5 separate regions of the Homo sapiens genome follow, and regions 1, 3, 4 and 5 are each linked to region 2. The links are contacts of gene promoters, found by promoter capture Hi-C in blood cells and fetal thymus (Javierre and others, 2016). All regions are on one chromosome and are shown on one strand. Each heading gives the region's core, a stretch centred on a gene start or on the middle of the fragment in contact. The rest is flanking DNA. Distances are from core to core; before and after follow the strand shown.

Region 1 (2,700 bases), core at 165-2,664, 990 kb before region 2:
ACAGGCGTGAGCCACCGCTCCCGGCCAAATATTTTTATATATTTATTACATGTTGGTAAAGAAAACAGTGATAATATATAAAACAGCATATTTACCATTTCCACTGTTCTTTATTCTCTTAATTTCAAGTTTTCAGCTGGTATTGTTTTCCTTCCAGATGAAAAACTTCTTTTAATATCTTTTATAGTGCAAGTCTGCTGTCAATGAATTCTCTTAGCTTTTGCTCATTTGAAAAAGTCTATTTTGCCTTTGTTTTTAAAGCTATTTCCACTGAATAGAGAATTCTAGGTTGGGCCAGGCACAGTGGCTCACACCTGTAATTCCAGCACTTTGGGAGGCCGCGGTGGGCTGATCACGAGGTCAGGAGATAGAGACCAGCCTGACCAACATGGTGAAACATTGTATCTACTAAAAATACAAAAATTAGCTGGGCGTGGTGACGCGCACCTGTAATCCCAGCTACTCAAGAGGCTGAGGCAGGAGAATCCCTTGAACCTGGGAGGTGGAGGTTGCGATGAGCCGAGATCACGCCACTGCACTCCAGCCTGGGTGACAGAGCGAGACTCCACCTCAAAATAATAATAATAATCATCATCATCATCATCACCATCATAAATAAAAAAAGAATTTTAGGCTGATAGCTTTTTTATTTTTTCTTTCAGGGCTTTAAAGACGCCATTCTATTGTCTTCTGGCCTACAATGTGTCAGACTAGAAGTCTGCCTATTATTATGATTTACTCTGTATACAGTGTCTGGCTGCTTTCAAGATTTATTTTTTATCATAGGCTTCCAACAATTTTATTATAATATGCCTTGATATGGTTTTCATTGTGTTTATCCTGCTTAAGGTTCTGTTGAGCATCTTGGATATATAGATTTACCATTTTCAACAAATTTGCAAAAATTTTTGCCAGTATTTCTTCAAATAATTTTATGTGTGAACTTATCTTTCCCCTTTTATTAAGCTTAAATCACACATACGTTGACATTCAATGTTGTCCCCTGAGTCACTAAGGCTCTGTTTATTTTGTTCAATTTTTTCTCCCTCTGTGCTTCAGTTTGCATGGTTTCTATTGCTATGCTTTCAAATTCAGTAATTTTTTTTCTTGCATTCTTGGTGTTAATCAGTTGTTAATCTCCTCCAGTGAAATTTTCCATTCATGTATTATCCCATTTCTAGAAGTTCCAGTTTTAATCCTTCATCCCACTCCTTGTTAGGCTATGTTTCCCTTTAAATTTTAAAGGTATTTGTAAAGCTCTTTTAAGGTTCTTTTCTGTCAATTCCATTGCCTTTGCCAGTTTTTAAAATCTGTTTCTGGTGACTGATGCTTTTTGTAATAGAATAGACTTTAATTTACATTTTAATTAAATATATTTGTATAATATATAATATAATATTTGTTATTTTATTATAATATAAATTGTGATGCTTCTGTAATCAATTGAGTTGTTCTACTTCTTCAAATGCTTACTATTCTTAATTAGATTCTGGACATTGTACATGTTACACTGCTAAGAATACGTTTGCACAACCTCAGATATCACCATTGCCTGCATTACCCTGGCTAACAAGGAAGTCTTGAGTCTGTCCACATATCCAGTGCATTACTACTACAATCCTATTTATCACCAAGAAATCTCAGAGTCTGCGGCACTACCCTCTAACCTGCATCAGAACTGACGCTGGTACCCACTACTAAGAGCCTAGAGGGAACATCACATCCCTGGATTCCCTACACACACACACACACACACACACACACACACACACACATCAAATGTTCCTTTTTTTTTATTCTAGCAAACTTTTAAGTTACTTGTTGATCAGCTTGAGCTTTTCAAACTTTTCCTATAAGCTTTGTTACAGCAGGTTTCAAGTGTCCTTTACTGTAGAACTAGATTTTCACTCTTGAAAGGCATGACCCTCTAGTGTTTCCCCCTGAATACCTCAAAGCTTTAACAAGGGCTCCTTACTATGGTTGACCAGAACACAAACATCTCCTAGCCCTGCGTGTACTCTAGAAACTCTTCAACTTACGATTTCTTGTTTGTTCTTTACCCAGTCTCATGTAGTCTCACCCTTCACAACTGTGGTTTAGTATTCAAGGGGGTCTTCATACAGATTTTGGAGCTCTTTCTCTGGGCAGCTCCTCAATCTCTGGTTTTACTCGTTAAATTCCAGATGTCTCACTCTTTCTAAATTCCAATTGCTCTCCTTCTACGTGCTATCTGGAAAGTGCTTCTGGACAGAAAGTCAGATGAACATAATGTTCACTGATTTGGTTCAGCTGGGTCCCCACTCAAATACCATCTTGAATTGTTGTTCCCATAATCCCCACGTGTCATGAGAGAAACCGGTGGGAGGTAATTGAATCATGGTGGCGGTTTCCCTCGTACTATTCTCGGGATAGTGAGTAAGTTCTCACAAAATCTGATGGTTTTACAAGGGGCTTCCCCCTTCACTCAGTTATCATTATGCTCCTTCCTACCACCATGTAAAGAAGGATGTGTTTGCTTCCCCTTCTGCTATGATTGTAAGTTTCCTGAGGCCTCCCCAGCTCTGCAGAACTGTGAGTCAATTAAACCTCTTTTCTTTATAAATTACCCAATCTTGGGTATTTCTTCATAGAAGTGTGAGAAGGAACTAATGCATTCACCTTGCTTATTTCCCTTCTCTCATAAATTACAGCCCTGCACTG
Region 2 (2,700 bases), core at 57-2,556:
TCCTTCAGAGACCTTTGCAAGACACTCTTTCAGGTCCTGAAACACAGACATTTAGAAACCAAAACAAGCTGGGGAATTCAGGCTAAGAACTAGAAGTAACAGGGGCCCGCGTACAAGTTGTGGCTCAAACGCTGCAGAGCTGGGTTTTCTTTTTCCTGGCAAACTGATTTATAACCACACGAAGGGCAGCTGCAGAACCAGTTAGACCATAAGTACTATTCCCAAACAGCCCTAGAGGAAGGACCATACAGGGATGGGAATGGCAAGGGGGATTCTGGGGGTCGTCCTTGTTCCCAAGTTCCGTGAGACGCCGCAAGTCTTAATTCTTGCAGGAGCCAGGGTCCCCATGGATCCTGCTGCCCAAAACGTGCGAGCCCGGGGAGTTGGCACAGCCTCAAGGCAGCCCGACAAGGTGCCTCCACGCCCCCTTGCGGACCCAAATGATTGAGGACGATGTGCCAATTAACTGATAGGTGCAGGGTTTCAGAAATGCTCTCTCAGTTTAACCTCACAAAAAGCCCTTGAATCAGCCCTGTTTTACAGATGTAAAACACCGAGGCTCAGGGGAGTGAAGGAAGACTTGTCAGCAAAAAGGAAAACCTAGTGAAGACTATCGTTGGTCTTGCTCCTTTTATCAAGGAGTAGAGGGGCTGGGGTCGCCTCGGGACCCCACAGCGACCCCTCTTGCTCTCTTCGCGGATGAGGCGCAGGCTGTCAGCCGGGAGGCCTGGCGGCGTCCAGGTACACGGGAAGACGGACAGCGCGGTGGGTGGCAGGGACTTTGCCCGGCACAGGACTGCAGCAGCCAGGCTAGGGCGCAGCGCGCACCACCCGCTCGTCGGCTTCTGCCAGGCAGCCCCGCTTGGCGAGCGAGTCCTCAGGGACCGAGGCTGCAGCAGCTAAGCGCGGGCGCACCGAGGACCATCCACGCGCCCGCAGCCGTTCCGGCGCCCCACGCGAGTCGCAAGCCACGAGCCAGGGAGCGCGTGCGCGCAGGACTGCAGCGGGCACGCGTTGGCAGTGCCATCGTGAGCTCACCCGCTGTGTCTCTTGCCTTACCGTAGCTGTTCCCCGGTGACCAAGACCTCAGCCATGCGCTCCAGCTCCCTTTGCTGCGCCCCGCCACTCCCGCTGGTGCTGCTGTCACTGCCAGCACTGCCAGTGCTGCCGCCCTCCTCCATGGTTTTAGGGCCGTGCGGCTACCACTGGCTCCGCTGTCCGCCGAGGGTTTGGGTGCTCGGATCAGTCTGCCCTCACAGACGCTTCCCGCGCCATCTTTGTTCGGGGCAGCTCCGCTGCTCTGACTGGATTGGCTGGAGAGGGAATCCCTATGGGTAGGCAGACGCGCTGGGCTAGTCCGGCCCCAGAAACTTGAGCTTGGGGGCGTGGCTAGAGCCCCTCATGGTCGGGGGGCGGGGCCGATGGAGGAAAATATAAACATCTGGGCGGGGCGCTGCTACTGAGCTGTGTGTGCTGCTGGAGGCTGAATTTGGTGAGCTCTCTTTACCCACAAAGCTCATGCTGTAGAATCCTGGGGACAGGCCTGGAGGTTATTAGTGTGAAGGCGTTTTTATTGTACGTTCCACACCCCAAGTTGCCAGAGAGCAAAACATAATTCAACAATCTGGCCAAATGGTCAACAGTGAAGGTTATACATGTCATTGAAGGGCATGGAGAAATTAAACATTCTTCTCTCCCCAACCTCTCTCTCCAAAGACGACTTGTTTGCCTTATGTTGTAATCAATAAGGAACGCCGGCCTAGGAATCAGGCTGACCTGGGATCCAGCTCCGCTCCTGTGATGTCCTATTTAAATGTGTTTAATCCTCCCTTACAAAATAAAAATAATTGCGGCTACCACTTTTGACATCTGCTGCATTAAAGATACTTCAGGTATGGTATTACCTCGTTTAATTATTACAATAATTCATAAAATAGGTATTGGTGTTCGTTTTGCATTAGAATGCAGGCTTGGAGAGGTGAAGTTACTTGTCTAAGGCAAGCAAATAATAAGTATAAGAAGAGCCGGGCACCGTGGCTCATGCCTGTAATCCCAGCACTTTGGGAGGCCGAGGCGGGCAGATCACCTGAGGTCAGGAGTTCCAGACCAGCCTGACCAACATGAAGAAACCCCGTCTCTACTAAAAATACAAAATTAGCCGGGCGTGGTGGTGCATGCCTGTAATCCTAGCTACTTCGGAGGCTGAGGCAGGAGAATCGCTCGAACCCGGGAGGCGGAGGTTGCTGTAAGCCGAGTTCGGGTGAGCGGAGTTAGTGCCATTGCATTCCAGCCTGGGCAACAAGAGCGAGACTCCGTCTCAAATCATCATAATAATAATAAGAAGAAATCTAACCGAGGCAATTCTGGCTTCAAAGTTATGCTTTGAAAAGACTGAAAGACTGCCTCTTAAAATGGGGATACAATGGTATTGTCTATCCGTAAAAGATTATGAAAAGAAATTTGATTAGTACCAAATAAATGTTCTGATTTTCTGTTTCATGCAGAGTCGGAGTTGGTCTGCAGGAAGGCGAAGTAATGTTTATGGCAGTATTCATGTGTGTTGAGCATTTATTCTGTGCTTTACATTGTGCCAAACACTTTATCCTCACAAAACCCTGGAGTTTGGTATTATTTTCAACTTACAAATGAGAAAGCTTAAGTATAGAAAGATGAAGTAATCTGCCTAGAAAGTTAGGTAGC
Region 3 (2,700 bases), core at 113-2,612, 530 kb before region 2:
GCACCAGAGAATATTTTCTACAACTCAGATGAGGCTTTTTAAAGTTCTGTTTTCTCACTCAAAATGTAATACTATTTTCGAAAGTTACTTTGTATAAAGGCAGTTTTTGCTAGTGACAAGTATCTGCAAAATAGATAGTTGTTACAGAACATTTGATAGCTATGGAAAGTTTAGCACAATTTAGAGAATGAATTAAGGAAAGTTTTATGTTAGCTATTTCTTAGATGATTCATTAATCTCCCAAGTATATTTTAAGCACATAAATGAAAATTTAAAACTTTCGTCTTTCACTTCAAAGATCAAAGCTTGTGTGTGTTTCATATATTTTTATATATAAGTATACTATATATAAATTGTATATAAAATATATATCATAGCTGTATTAGATAACAATTACACACACACACACACACACACACACACACACACACATGCACACATATATAATCCACTGTTAGAAACTGCTTTATAAAGATGAGGACTGGGTCCTGCTCACTACTTTATTCCCGGCGCCCACAGCAGGACCTGACCAGTCAATTTGTTGAATAAATGAATGCATGAATGGAATCATATCCTCCCTGAAAGGGAAATTGATGTTCAGTTCATGAAGTGTGATAAATTCATGTTTTGGGTTTTGCTCCTTACTTAAATCTTGTCTAACTATAACTAAAATAGACATTTTTCTTAACAGGCCTTACTTTAATGCAACTCTAATATATACAATTTTGGATACTTTGTATTACATGTCTAAAGAACAATCATGGTAATTTCATTAAAATACAACTTATATTTCTGTCAAGGAGTAAATTTGTATAATTTATATGAAAAAAATTGACAGGTGTTAGCTTTCAGAAATGGCATTTGAAATATCCCTCTAAAGATTTCCTGTGATTATTTTAGAATACTGTTATTATTTACAAATATATTAACCTTATATAACATTAACGCACATTTTAAAACTACATAATTTGTTATTTCCAATGAAACAGTGACAAAGAAGTAGGGCTAATGTACAATATACATTCACCTATCATCCCTCTTTTAAAAGATTAAGCCGTTTCATTTAAGTTTCAAATATTTAAGCATTCATAGTATGAAAAGTAATGTGCTAGATGCCACCCTTCTTGTTTTTAAAAACTATTTAATCTAGTGAAGAGATTAGGTCACCTCAGCACAAAATAGGGTATGTAAGCAACATAATCTGAGAATTCAATTCTAGTTTGCATGTTACCATATATGGGTTACCAACTTTTAAAGAACCTAAATACATTTGCTGAGTACTAAAGCTGCTTGAACTACAGTTTGGGAGAAAAGAACCAGGAAAGATACTGTGTATCAAATGGAGTCATCTCTAGTTTAGGAAGAAGTATGTGTGTTACCTTCTGTTAGATAGTATTAGTAATTTCTTACTGAAGGTGCTCCTCTGTCTTATAAATAGCTCTGTCTTTGGTCTAAGGGGAACCCATGCTAATTAGAATGTGGTCCATAAACCAGCAATGCATCAAGTGGGAACTTGTTAGGATTGCCAAATCGTGAGCCCCTCCACAGAATAAGTGAAATCAGGACCTGCATTCTCATAAGAATCCAAGCAATTTGTATGCCTGCTGAAGTTTGAGAAACACAGACATAAATAGCCCTCTCCTCCCCTTTCTTATATTACCTTGAATTTCGTTGTTTTAGTGGAAAGGAATAAGCAATACAGAAAAGTTGTGTGTATGCTTGTTTTCATTTCTGTTTGAGACAGAGAGAAGTAAAACCATATTTAGTGTAAAAACCTCTCTTTTCCCCACAGGGGAACCTCCTGAAAAATGTGTATCATTAATTGCCTCCAGTATGAGTTGATGTTTCCAGCTGTGCCACTATCTTAACTATCTAGTCTTTGGCCATGATACTGCTTTTCCCCCTTTGGAAGCAAATTAACCATCTGGAAAATATCCCGATTATTTAAAGATGAATTTGCACATGAAGTGGCATTTTCAAGGGGGTCACTGTACTCTGTACTGTGCTCAGATATACTAGGCATCCACTGTGTATCAGGCATTACCGTGGCTGCTGGGAGTATAAGATAATCATATCAGGGCCCTGCCTTCAAAGGACTGGCAGCCTAAGAGGCATCATATAGAATAAAATGGTGCTTGCAAGCACCGGAGTCAAATTGTTTACACTCAGATCCCTGCCATCTACCTCCTAGCTGTGTATCCTTAGCCAAGTTACTGAGCTACTCTGAGCCTAAGTTTTGTCACTGTAGAATGAAACTAATAACAGTGTCTTTCTTACAAAGTAGTTGTGAGGATAAAATAATTCATGTGAAGTCTTTATTATACTTTGTGGCATCTAATGAGCACTCAGCATGTGTTATTTACAAGGAAGAGCCAGTATGATTAGAGAAACATTGTAGTAGAAGCATGCATTAAGCTTTCTGGCAATCCTAGAGAAAGGAGCCCAGTCTGTGTTAGAAAGGAATTGTTGTGAAGAGCTTGACAGAAAATGTAACGTTTGAGGTGGATTTTGAAAGATTAGTCATGGTTGCCAGGCAGAGAAAAGACAAAGAGGAAATTTGCTTTGAGGTCAATGTCCACATTCCTTTATGTGGTGGATTATACCATTCAATTTTACTTCTAAATTCCACTGAAAGGTGGTATTGTCATTTCATTTCAATTAAATAAATTAACCTTTTGTGTGGAAACAACTGGTGACTGT
Region 4 (2,700 bases), core at 48-2,547, 950 kb before region 2:
ATCCCCAAACAAATTTTTCAGTTGGTTAACTTTCTGGAAAGAAAGTAAAAGGCAGTAAAAGGTTTTGCAATCTTACTGAAATTTCTACTGCAATGTAACACTGATCGGACTTGGGGGCATTGGGGTTGGTGACTAAGAGGAACAGCCACAATTTTTTAACCTTTCAGGAAGCCTAAAGGACAGAATTTAAAGCATAGCCATGTAAGGCTGACAGACTCACTCTTCAGAAGAGAAGTTAATCCTCTTGGGGGCTTCCCTTTAAAAATAATTTTAAAGGCCCTGACTCAGAGAATCAGGAATGTAAAATTTGAGTTTCAATTGACTGAAGCCCAGTGGAAAGGGGACAAGATGTGGACTCTGTCAAACTTAAGTCTGAATTCCAATCCTTCCACTCACACTTAATGTGACCTTGAGCAGGTTTCTTCATCTCTCTGTGTTCCAAGTCTCCATTTATGAAACTGGGATGACTTCTGCTTTACAGAGTTGATATGAGGCTTGCATGAGAAGATATGGCAAACTGGTTAATTGCAGGCCCTCTCAAATGTTGGTTCAGATTCTCTTTTTTATTTCCTTTGTTTATAATTATGATAGCCACCATAGCATAGACTGGAATGTCTATTACATTTATGAGCCATCTAATGACGTTTCAGTCAAGGAAGGACCACATACATGACAGTGATCCCGTACAATTGTGTTATAATTGTCTAACATGCTATACAATTTTGTAGTCTAGGAATTAGTCCATAGCCTAGGTGTGTGGTAGGCTACAGCATCTAGATTTGTTTAAGTACCTTCTATGCTATTTGCACAAGAAATTGCCTAACAATGTATTTCTTAATACATATCCCCATCATTAAGTGATACCTGACTGTATTTGCCAGACTGGCGCCCCTTACCCTAACTTCCAGATTTACCTGCTTTTAAAGTTGCTCCAGTCCTTTTCTAAGCATTTTAAGACATTGGAGCAGGTGTTATTCTTTTTTTGTAAATGGTCAAGTTACAAATATTTTAAGCTTTGCAGGCCTTATGGTCTCTGTCAGGATTACTCAACCCTGCCTGCCATTGTAGCATGAATGGTAGCCATAGACAACATGTAAACGAATGTGTGTGGTTGTGTTCCAATGAAACTTTATGAAATCAAGTAGCTAGTCCATGGAAAATAGTTTGCCAGTCTTTGCACTTTACTATGAAACTTCAGCATCCTGTACACATTGAAACTGTAATGCCTTAGGATAAAAATTTCAGTTTGTTTTAGGAAAGAGAGGGAGGCAAGGGAAAAGGGAGAAAAGAAATAGCTGAAGAATTCAATGTGAATTTATATTCATTACACTATTATTTTAACTAAATATAGAGAAAATAATCTTTCCACTTGTCTTAAGCTATTTACTTTAGGCTGTTTACCACTTATTAGCTCAGTGATCTCAGACATAGTAAGACTAGTTAATATTTATTGATCACTTACTCTAGGTAAGTCCTGTGTCAAGTGCCTTACATGCACGATTTTATTTAATCTTTAAAATAATCCTATGAGATAAAAATAATTTGGAAACACTATTTTAAAGCCAAGTAAATGGAAGCTTAGAAAAGTTACTTTTCCTAGTATTACAGAGTCAGTAAATTAAGTAACTGGAATTTATATCTAGGTAGTTTGACTTCACAGTTGTTCAACCTGAGTTTTATTATACATAAAAATAAATTATCATTCTATATCTTACTGGTTTCTTGGAAAGACTACAACAGAGAAAGTATCTGAAAATACCTGAGTAACAATCATGGGGCACTAAATCAGTTCCTTTCTGTTTTTCTAGTCTACTAAGCATTCACAATTATCCAGCAATATTTTTTTTTAAGAGACAGGGTCTCACTCTGTCACCCAGACTGGAGTGCAGTGGTGTGATCATGGCTAACTGCAGCCTGGACATCTTGGGCTCAAGTGATCCTTTCTACTCAGCCTCCCAAGTAGCTGTGACTACAGGTTTGTGCCACCACACCCAGCTAATGTTTATTTATTTTATTTTATTTTTGTAGAGACAGGGTTTTGCTATGTTGCCCAGGCTGGTCTTGAACTTCTGACCTCAAGTAATCATCCCGCCTTGGCCTCCCAAAATGCTGGGATTACAGACATGAGACAACATGCCCAACCATTTATTAAATATTTGTTGAGTACCCTCTATCTTCTTGGGTTTGACTGATCTAGAACCACTGATTCCTTGGTAGAGGAAATTTCAGTGTTGGCTTGGCAAAAGAAATTGTTTCTTTAGCCAAGGATATATGATCCTGAAGAGTCTTTGGCCTTGAGTTTCCATGATGTATCTTCTTAATCTTTCTTAAAATGCTATCTTATCTGCATCAGAATCCTGTTGATAAAATTTACATTTTCAGACACTAAGATCGCAATCATCAGAATGTTTTGAGGTGGGGCTCAGGTTTCTGCATTATTATCCCCAACTCTATTTTGAAAAAAAAAATTTAACCTACAAAAAGTTGAATCATACAGCATAAACCCATTTATTCATTACTAGATTCTCTTACTGCTAATTTTTCCACATTTGGATCTCTTTCTCTTGCTGTTACATCCTCTTTGTTTCTGTCTCTATATTTAAAAGTTAGTTTATAGTTTACCATATTTCCTAGAGAGTTATTTTCTTTCTCCATTTGAAAGTCAGTTATTGACATCATGTCACCCCTAAACACATCAGC
Region 5 (2,700 bases), core at 71-2,570, 590 kb before region 2:
GGCCTGAGTTTCAAAATCTTGATTAAATCTTTTCAGTAGGTCCTCTCCAACAAGCAGTCATTGTGGAAATCATGTTTCTAGCTTGCAAATTCCTCTCTCTGAAGAAATATTTCCCAGCCAGAAGATTAGTGAACATCATAACTCCCTAACAATCCTATCTTGTCTTTTCCTAATCTAGCTTAATTATTAGTAAAATAAGCTTTACTCCAAGAAGTTTTTACTTATATTCTGGGGCTAATCATAGTTACATAGATAAATAATTTGTTTAAGCTAAGATGCTGACTGAAGATCACACAAAGCAATAGAATTTAAGCACCATGAAAGTTTCTTGAGAAAGGGCCTGTCCATCTTATTCTATCCAATATTACAAACAAGCATCTGGCAGATAGCAGCAGTAAAAACATTTTTAAAAAAATTAATTGTTTAATAAATGAAACCCAAGGTATTTATTTATTTATTTTTTGAGACGGAGTCTCGCTCTGTTGCCCAGGCTCGAGTACAGTGGCGTGATCTTGGCTCATTGCAACCTCCACCTCCTGGGTACAAGTGATTCTCCTGCCTCAGCCTCCCGCATAGCTGGGACTACAGGCAAGCGCCTCCTTGCCCGGCTAATTTTTTGTATTTTTAGTAGAGATGGGGTTTCACCATGTTGGCCAGGCTGGTCTCAAACTCTTGACCTCAGGTGATCCACCTGCCTCGGCCTCCCAAAGTGCTGGAATTAAAGGCGTGAGCCACCGCGCCCAGCTGAAACCCAAGTTATAAAGCACTAGATTTCAAAGAACTGGTATGTAATTAAACACTTTTTCAAAAATGTGAAAAATGACCAGGTGCAGTGGCTCACACCTGTAAAGCCAGCACTTTGGGAGGCCGAGGTGGGTGGGTCACTTGAGGTCAGGAGTTCAAGACCAGCCTGGCCAACATGACGAAACCCTGTCTCCACTAAATATACAAAAAAAAATTAGCCAACCATGGTGGTGTATGCTTGTAGTTCTAGGTAGTTGAGTGGCTGAGCCGGGAGAATTGCTTGAACCCGGGAGACGGAGGTTGCAGTGAGCCAAGATCACACCATTGCACTCCAGCCTGGGCAATAGAGCGAGACTCCGTCTAAAAAAAAAAAAAAAAAAAGAGTAAAAAACAAATCATAACTCAATGTTTAAGAAAAATAAATTACTTCATATTTAGATTTGTTTTCTAAGTTACATAATATATGGCTTCAAAAATAATCCCTTTTGCTGCATTGAACTGGGAACATAGTTATAAAGTCTCTATTTCTTACTAATAAAGTATGTTGTAATATTTTACAATCATGGTTTGAGAAGAAAAAATGATAATCTAATACAACAAATTTAAAACAAAACAACTGAAAATATATTATTAAACATTAATAGTTTAGGGTGCTTCTAGGATTAGTGTTGCCTATCTTCAATAACTAGATGGACTAATGCTTATGTTACACCTGTGTTAAACTATAGGTACAGATCTCATTTTGACTTGAAATAGTCTCTATAAATTAGCCAGGCATGGTGGCACATGCCTGTAATCCCAGCTACTTGGGAGGCTGAGGCAGGAGAATCACTTGAACCCGGGAGGCAGAGGTTGCGGTGAGCTGAGATCGCGCCACTGCTCTCCAGCCTGGGTGACAGAGCGAGACTCCGTCTCAAAAAAAAAAAAAAAAAAAAAAGTCTCTATAAGATTTCTACAAATTTCTCTGTAAAATTTCTATAAATTTCATCATACCTTCAAATTACTTAGAGAATATCTAATATCTAGCGCTTTATACTTTTAAGGAAACTGCTTCACATATGTGTGTCCATCATTTGGGCCACATAAACTTCAAAGACAATAAAAAATTAGTTAGCAACCATCATTTATATCATACTTGGTAGTTTATAAAATACATTTCAATTTGGTTTTTATTACAACTCTGAAATAGGTAACAGAGGGATTATTATTTCCAGTTTACAATATTAAGAGCTGTAAGCCAGTGAGTGGCATAGCTATGGCTTAAAGTCAAGTTTTCTAAAAAACATGCTCTTCTATTTAAGACTTTCTACTATACCATCTATATTCCTTTCCTCCCTTATTTGGCAATATAGATAATTAATGATAAATAACAATTTTCTCAATCCATACAAGGAAGCATCTCCAAAAAATTAGGTGACTGGACAGGGATATACAGAGAGCTACTTGGCTACCTGGATTAAAATAGAAGCAGGGTATTTTTTATTCTCAGTGCACTTAAAAAATATATACTAATTCATAAGCTGTCTCTGCAAATAGTTTGGAGAAATGTATGGCCTTATTAATCTCTATCTAAACTAGGGTCTCTTGACTTATTCCCTATCTCAGGCTGTTTATTTCTTCATAATTCTTATTATGTCTGTAGTTATTTATTTTCTGTTGGTCCCCTAAAATGTAAGTTCCACAAATACAGAAGCTTCTTCTGTACACTTCATTACTGGGTTCCCGAAATCTAGTATAGTACCTCATACACAGTAGAATATATGTTGGATAAATGATAAAAGATAAATTTTAAAATTTCAAAATTTAGTAAATTAGTTATTCTTAGAGGATGAAAGCCAGGTTAATATTGGTAAAGGCCACTTCATCAAATAAATACTTTGTCGTCCTATTCAAAGGACTATTAAATTTATGGAAAAAGAGGCCAGAAGCCAAAATTTTAAGTTACTATATAGTCAA

Evidence for each region. Contacts are between HindIII fragments. The CHiCAGO score rates a contact against its expected background, and 5 or more counts as called.
Region 1: a contact is called between a fragment that was not itself captured here and the fragment with the promoter of DEPTOR in region 2, in 4 of 17 cell types (naive CD8 T cells, naive B cells, total B cells and 1 more). The highest score is 12.0, in naive CD8 T cells.
Region 3: a contact is called between a fragment that was not itself captured here and the fragment with the promoter of DEPTOR in region 2, in 6 of 17 cell types (naive B cells, endothelial precursors, megakaryocytes and 3 more). The highest score is 8.2, in naive B cells.
Region 4: a fragment that was not itself captured here is called in contact with the fragment with the promoter of DEPTOR in region 2 in 1 of 17 cell types (naive B cells); the score reaches 5.7 in naive B cells.
Region 5: a fragment that was not itself captured here is called in contact with the fragment with the promoter of DEPTOR in region 2 in 6 of 17 cell types (naive B cells, naive CD8 T cells, total B cells and 3 more); the score reaches 8.5 in naive B cells.

What each region holds. Positions count from the first base shown.
Region 1 is chr8:120,862,924-120,865,623 of GRCh38, reverse strand. No RefSeq gene overlaps it. Among named protein-coding and RNA genes, the nearest start is that of SNTB1, 52 kb to the right of the region's middle. The HindIII fragment of the contact is 891 bases long and covers 969-1,859 here.
Region 2 is chr8:119,872,328-119,875,027 of GRCh38, reverse strand. DEPTOR (DEP domain containing MTOR interacting protein) reads right to left here and starts at 1,306. Exons shown (of 9, transcript NM_022783.4): 1 at 1,060-1,306. The coding sequence starts at 1,181. RefSeq lists enhancers at 569-618, 709-808, 443-943, 1,009-1,268, 944-1,444 and 1 more and a silencer at 1,288-1,460. The HindIII fragment of the contact is 2,864 bases long and covers 1-2,656 here.
Region 3 is chr8:120,404,288-120,406,987 of GRCh38, reverse strand. The region is part of intron 6 of MRPL13 (mitochondrial ribosomal protein L13); the gene reads left to right. Among named protein-coding and RNA genes, the nearest start is that of MRPL13, 40 kb to the left of the region's middle. The HindIII fragment of the contact is 2,110 bases long and covers 308-2,417 here.
Region 4 is chr8:120,822,081-120,824,780 of GRCh38, reverse strand. No RefSeq gene overlaps it. Among named protein-coding and RNA genes, the nearest start is that of SNTB1, 11 kb to the right of the region's middle. The HindIII fragment of the contact is 564 bases long and covers 1,016-1,579 here.
Region 5 is chr8:120,464,637-120,467,336 of GRCh38, reverse strand. All of the region lies in intron 10 of MTBP (MDM2 binding protein), which reads right to left. Among named protein-coding and RNA genes, the nearest start is that of MTBP, 21 kb to the right of the region's middle. The HindIII fragment of the contact is 2,238 bases long and covers 202-2,439 here.